Linked DNA regions of Homo sapiens: region 1 is linked to region 2. Evidence: promoter capture Hi-C in human tissues and cell types (Jung and others, 2019). All regions are on one chromosome and are shown on one strand. The core of a region is centred on a gene start or on the middle of the fragment in contact, and the rest is flanking DNA. Distances in the headings are between cores, read along the strand shown.

Region 1 (3,360 bases), core at 123-2,622, 540 kb after region 2:
GAAAAACCCCAATGTCCATTTAATAAGGAGTTCCAGAAGGAGAGAGGAGAGGAGATGGAGAAAAATTTCTCTACCAAGAGAAGAAAATTTCTCTGAGCTAGAGAATGGCTTAATCCTTTAGACCACAAATAACTCCTGAGTGTTGGGTTGGCATACTTTGACTACTCCTAGTGAAATTTCTGAGTTGCAGAGTTAATGGAAAAATCTTAAATAACTTTTCATGGAGAAAGAAAGAAATTGCACAAAAGAAACAAGAATTAGACTCACGTTACCTATTTCATTTACAACTTTAAATGCCACAAGGAAATGTAGCAATGTGTACAGGATATGGAGAGCAAATAAATATAAACTTTAGATTCCAGGTCCAGTCAAGCTATTGTTTAAGCATGAATGAAAAATCAAATACTTTTTAAAAATTTTTTCAGAGTTAATATGCTATTATGTCTTCCTGTGGGAGAGAGTTGTCCAAGTATAAGCCCCTTTGAGAAAGAGAAAATATAAATTGAATTAAATTTTGAAGAAACAAGAAGACGTGAGACACAATGAGATCAATTCAGATATATTCAGCCAGAAGTTACAGAAGACCTAATTTAACATAAATTAAAATAAAAGATGTATTTTATCATATAACAAAAGCTTAAGCACTACCATAACTGGCGTGCATCTGTGTAACGTTAGCACGTCTAATTCAGCACCATAGTATAAAGTAAAAAATATCATTGGCTTTAATTTGTTGCTTGCTTTGACAGTACGTTTCAGTTTCTGCTAGTTAATTCTAGTTGACAGCCTCATTTTCAAGTGTAGTTTCTTCCTGTCACAGTCAACATTTTTTAATTTAGTTCATTCAAAAAATATTTCTCAAGCTCCTATGATATGTCAGGTACCATATAAGACAGTGGGGCAAGACATCCTGACCTTCAAATAACTTAAATTCTATTGGGGGAGAAAATTCAATTTCAAAATAGCTTGTTGAGTTTTATGGTTGGGAAATCCAGAGGGCTATGGGAACTTGTGGAGTGGGGACCTCAAATGGGCCTGGAGAATCAGCAAGAGCTTCCTGAGGAGCTGTGTCTAAGCCTGTTCAAGAGCAAGTACTAGACATCCAGGTAAAGGGAGAAGAGGGCACTAATTCAGGCAAATAAAAGAACATAGGTAAGGGCCCAGGTAAAAGAAAGGCAATGGCCTGACAGTAACTCAATGTGGAGAGTGAATTCCTGTAGGAGAAAAGGAAGAAATGAGGCTAAGAGGTTAATAGGTACTAGTTCAAGATTGGGCTCGTAAGCCATGCTGAGATAAATGATCAGGAAAGCAGGTGGGTGCAGATTCCGAACAATCAGTAACTGGGATGTACAAATGTGTCACAGTGTATTAATATAACTAGATTTGTACCTCTTCCTTAAATGATCTAGGACCACATATCAGTGTATTAATCTACTTGTGTATTTTTCTGAGTTAGACGTGGAGGCTCCTCAAATCAACTGTCCTAAGGACATAGAGGCTAAGACTCTGGAACAGCAAGATTCTGCCAATGTTACCTGGCAGATTCCAACAGCTAAAGACAACTCTGGTGAAAAGGTAAGGTTTGTGCAATTATGTGCATCCTTTTCAAATGAATTCTAAATATACTGCAGATATGTGTGTTGAAGACTTACTAATATGCTCATGGTAATACTTGTATTAGGGTTCTCTAGAGGGACAGAACTAATAGGATAGATGTATATATGAAAGTGAGTTTATTAAGGACTATTGACTCACACCATCACAAGGTGAAGTTCCACAATAGGCCATCTGCAAGGTGAGGAGCAAGGAAGTCAGTCCAAGTCCCAAAACCTCAGAAGTGGGGAAGCCGATAGTGCAGCCTTCAGTTAGTGGCCAAAGGCACAAGAACTCCTGGCAAACCACTGATATAAGTACAAAAGTCCAAAAGCTGAAGAACTTGGAGTCTGATGTTCAAGGGCAGGAAGCAGCCAGCACGGGAGAAAGATGAAGGCTGGAAGACTCAGCAGGTCTGCTCTTCTCACCTTCCTCTGCCTGCTTTATTCTAGCCAAGGTGGCAGCTGATTAGATGGTGCCCACCCAGACTGAGGGTGGGTCTGCCTCTCCCAGTCCTCCTCAAATGTTAATCTTTGGCAACATCCTCACAGACACACCCAGGAACAATACTTCGTATCCTTCAATCCAATCAAGTTGACGCTCAATATTAACCATCACAATACTCTTTGTGTATGAACTCTACTCGTAAATGTGAATGCGGCATCTGACAGAATAATGATCAACCTTGAATTTTTAATTAGAAATCTCAGATAAAATCCTCAAAACCAGAAACTTTTCATTCTATGGATTTGTTGTATTATTGTAGCCACTAAGATTACTTGACGAAGAATTCTTTGCCCTTTACTAGGTTCTGAGGATCTTTTAAGAAAAGAAAAGATGTGGACTCAATCCTAATTGCTATTTATGAACCTATCTTTTAAAATATGGGCCCAAAATGATTGTGTATTTTTCAGTCAGAAAGAGATAGCACTGGTGTTTCTTCTTCAAGCTTGTCTGAATCCAGCATTATTCAGAACACAGTATTTTAATTTTCTTTGTATAGTAGCTTGAAATAATCCATCAGATGTTAGAAAAATAGTTCATTTAGGAATTTTACTTCCTCTTATATGTACATGGTTAGTATTCATATACATTAAGATGCACTTAAATATTATGTTATTTCTACACTTACCTGTAAATATATATAAGTTGGACCAATCAGGATACACTGGGGGCGGCGGGGGGGATGCAGAGCGCAACATAGAAAAAATAGCTGTTCCGATCATTGTGTTGAATATACTTACAATCAAGGTAGCTTTTAAATCTGATTTGAAAAGGGCAAATGTGATTTCTAGGGCTGAATGCACTTTAGGTGGTTTGTGTGTTGAACAGTCTCTCATGTGTGATATTTCCACCACATCTTTTTCTTTTCACTCTGACCCTCCTGCCTTCCCCTTATAAGGACCCTTGAGATTACATTGAACCCATCTGGATAACTCAGGAGAATCTCCTAATTTTAAGATTCTTAATTTAGTCGTGTCTGCTAAGTCCCTTTTACCATGTAAGGCAACGTGTTCACAGGTTCCAGGGATTAGAACATGGATGATCTTTGGGGGGGCCGTTATTCAGCCTACTACATGGGGGAAGAACTTGAATGTGCTTAAAAGAATAAAAATAGAAATGGAGAGAACCAATTGAGATGGAGAAGTTGAATATACAAGGAAAAGAGGGGGCAATTCATTGTGAATGGCTTCTGTTCAGAAAGTGATCAAACCTGAAGCGTAACTAAAGGGAATAAGTAAGAGAGTTTTGAAGTTTTAGGAGAAT
Region 2 (3,256 bases), core at 666-3,165:
TGTTAAGAAATCTGATAGTAAGTACAGTGTATAGGAAGAAAGAGACGGGAAAATTAGCTAATAAGTGATTTTTTGACTTGAGTAGAGCTATGGTTAAAAATATATGGAAACCTCTTTCGAGTATATTTTTTTCTTACCAATATATACTTTTTATGATACTGAGATTTTATAGTGAACATTTGCCTATTCATCCCAATATAATATTTCTTATAGTTTGGTATCAACCCCTATGATTATTTGTGAGATAAGGGAGTGGTTTGTATTCATGGGTATACATATCTATACACATTTCTGCATGCCGTACACAAACATAAGTAGCATTGTGCATGAACATATTAGCACTGTGCATGTACTAAAATTTCAATTTTTTCACATAGTAGGTTATAAAATAAATCATATATTCGTAGGAAAGGTATAGAAAGCAAAGTTATTTAAAGTGGATTTTTAAAAAAGATTTGAATGATTTTTTTTAAAAAAAAGATTAGAACCATTGTTTTTAAAAGGAAACAGCTTTAGATAGTAAATTATTTACAGCCAGGACTCAGCCCTGAGCATCCTGTGAAAACCACACGAGCTTGGTCAAGGTTCTAAGCAGTCACCGGTGGGAGATGGTCATGGTCCCGTCACAGCATAACTCACTTGAGGCTTGAAAAGTTTCCGTCCAGCTACGGTTTGCAGTGACCTTTCTCTTCTGCAAAGCCCACGGTTACCTGGTGGCCACCACCAACATAGCCCCGCCTCGCTGTCCTGCGTTTCTCTCAATCAGATCAGTCCTGCCGAGTCCCCATGCCTTACTGCTGGTGTGCTGTGTCCTCTGTGCCATTTCAAGGCGAGGGCTCATGAAACTTTTACTCACACGCTGCTATTTTTGATATGCGGTGGCCTTAGCTGTGGAGCGAGAGGCCGATAATTGTGATCACTCCGGAAATCCTGGGAAGCCAGAAGTGGGAGATGGGTGTTGTGAGGTGGCGTGGCTAGGGAGACCCCATCGAGTGGGTGTGTTATAAGACCTGGGCGAATCCCTGTGGCTGCCACTCTCCTGAGAATGTTCCCTAGGCCTTAGTCCCGCGCCGCTCCCACCCACACCTCCAGGTGTGCAGTCCCCGCCCTTAATTACTCTCACTAAAATTGATAGTTTACACTTGCAAAGCTACACTGGGAAAGCGGAAGAGAAATTTATAATCGTGGATATGGAGAACTAGGGGAGCAGACACACTTGCTTTCGTTTACAGATCCAGTGAAGTGAAAAATCAGAACTAGAAACGTATGCACCTTCCTAGCAGCAAAGCCGCTTCTGCGTTCTTCGCAGCCTCCAGTGCAGGGCGGCGCTGGGAGAAACTTTGCGCCTTCTGGAAAGTTTAGAAAGTGAGCCACGAAAGAGAGGCCACATTTCCGGGGTTTTGCGGGCCCCGCGATGTTTTCCAGAGCTTTTCGAGTGGGAAGAGGAGAGCGACAACGTGAAAATGCCCCGTGCCGGGGCGTCCACCGGAGTCCTGCCAGCTGTCCGGCGCTGGGGTAAGCGCAGGAGGGGCGGGGGTGGGACCCGAGCTGGCGGCCACGGGTCTCCCGCTGCGGGTGTGTCGACTCGGGGGCGGGGCGGGGGAGGCTGCTGAGATAATGAATGGGAGGCTAAGGCCACCCCCCAGCCCCGGCCCTGCCACCACCGTGGGCTGTCGAGCCAATGAATGGAGGAGGGGGCGCAGAGGTCAGGGGCGCTGGGGGCGCCACACCAGGTAAGGGGTCCAGCTTGGGAGCGGGGAGGGCGGACTCTGGGGGTTCGGGTGTTGCTGACTTGTGCTACGTGGAACAAGCAGAAAAGAAGGAAGGCGGAGGAAGAGAGGAGGCTGGCGTCGGCGCTGCTCCTCTGGCCCTCCCTCTGCGCCCCCTCCTCCTGCCAGCGCGCCAAAGCCGGGCAGTAGGGGCCGACTGGCGGCTGACGCTCCCTGAGTGGCGACTCCGTCTCCAGCCCCGCTGCGGAGCGCGGGCCGGATCTGGGGCGGCCAGGGCCCGGAGCCGCGGAGCCCTCCCCGCCGCCCGGCCGAGCACGGGACCCCGGCGGGGTGGGCGCAGGGGGCGGCCCCGCTCTGGGCGACTGCCGAGGGGCGGGCGGAGGGCCGGGCTCGGCTGGCGGTGGGGCGGGGGCCGCCGGGACTGGGCGCGCGGCCTGAAGCCAGCCCGGGGGCGGCAGGAGAGGGACGCGCGGCGGCAGCGAGCGCAGGTAAGGGGGCCGGCGCGGCGTGTGGGGACGGCGCCCCCTGGGCGCGAAGCCAGAGGCCGCGGCGACTGCTCGGCCCGCCACACGGCGCGCTGGGCTCACACTGTCCCGCCGCGGACGGGCTTTGTGGTTGGGGGCGCGCGTGCGAGTGCCAGTGAGAGTGTGGGTGCGCGCTGTGGGCCGCGGCGCGGGTGGGTGGCCGTGCGTTCTTGCGAGCCGGCCTGCAGGAGGCGAGGCTCCCCTGGCCTCCCGCACCCAGCGGCGGACCGAGCCCCTGGAGGGAAGTTGCCGCAGCCGCCCGGGCCGCCGGCCCTCCTGTCCCGCGCCAGGTCAGTGCGCCCCGGGGCCCGCCCAGTGACACGTAGGTGGCCTCCGGTTACCTGGGTCGGGGTGGGTGCGCGGGAGGGCTTGCGAGGGGCCCTCGAAATTCTCCCAAAACCTCGTCCCGCTGGACTTGCACCTCCGAGGGGTCCCTGCGCCCCTGGGGCTCCGCACCTCTCGCTTCCCACTGACGACTCGGTTGTCCCCCACCACCGGGCTGAGGACTTTTAACTAAGTTTCTGTCCAGCCGCCTAACAAACGTGCTTAACAAGTAACAGGAGGTTGTAAGGCAAGGGAGGGACCTGGCTTTGAAAGTTGATGGTTTTGAAATCGACGGCTCCTTTGACTTGCGTAGGACTCCTTTGTGGTGAATGGATTTAAAGTTTATTCTTGTTTTTCTTTGCTGCCATTTGGTCTTTGCAATGTTAAGAGTGAAGGCATTCAGGACTTGCTGCTGCCTGCTGTCTGGGGCCTGAGGTTGTGGCTCTCCGCTTCTGCTCTCCTCTCTTCATTTTTGTTGAAATCCGTGGATTTTTTCATAAATGTGGGTGCTGGCTTGTTTCACTATGGACGCGTCGTTTCCTATGGGGTTAGATAGATATTGGTAAACATAAATATTGAAAATGTGATGATCACATATTGATGATCACAGCGAAATCCTCTATTCCTTCAGGCTCTAACAGTTTGTTTTTCACGTATTTGCATAAGTGTGTTTGCTCA

Evidence for each region. Contacts are between HindIII fragments. The study calls those that stand out against the background at their distance.
Region 1: a contact is called between a fragment that was not itself captured here and the fragment with the promoter of LPAR1 in region 2, in 1 of the 25 tissues and cell types used here (mesenchymal stem cells).

Annotation. Positions count from the first base shown.
Region 1 is chr9:110,495,030-110,498,389 of GRCh38, reverse strand. SVEP1 (sushi, von Willebrand factor type A, EGF and pentraxin domain containing 1) reads left to right here. Exons shown (of 48, transcript NM_153366.4): 8 at 1,457-1,575. Among named protein-coding and RNA genes, the nearest start is that of SVEP1, 83 kb to the left of the region's middle. The HindIII fragment of the contact is 5,309 bases long and covers 1-3,360 here.
Region 2 is chr9:111,037,129-111,040,384 of GRCh38, reverse strand. LPAR1 (lysophosphatidic acid receptor 1) reads left to right here and starts at 1,915. Exons shown (of 6, transcript NM_001351411.2): 1 at 1,915-2,218. It overlaps LOC124902248 (a long non-coding RNA gene), which reads right to left. Exons shown (of 2, transcript XR_007061732.1): 1 at 2,596-3,256; 2 at 1-930. RefSeq lists a silencer at 2,146-2,485. The HindIII fragment of the contact is 11,259 bases long and covers 1-3,256 here.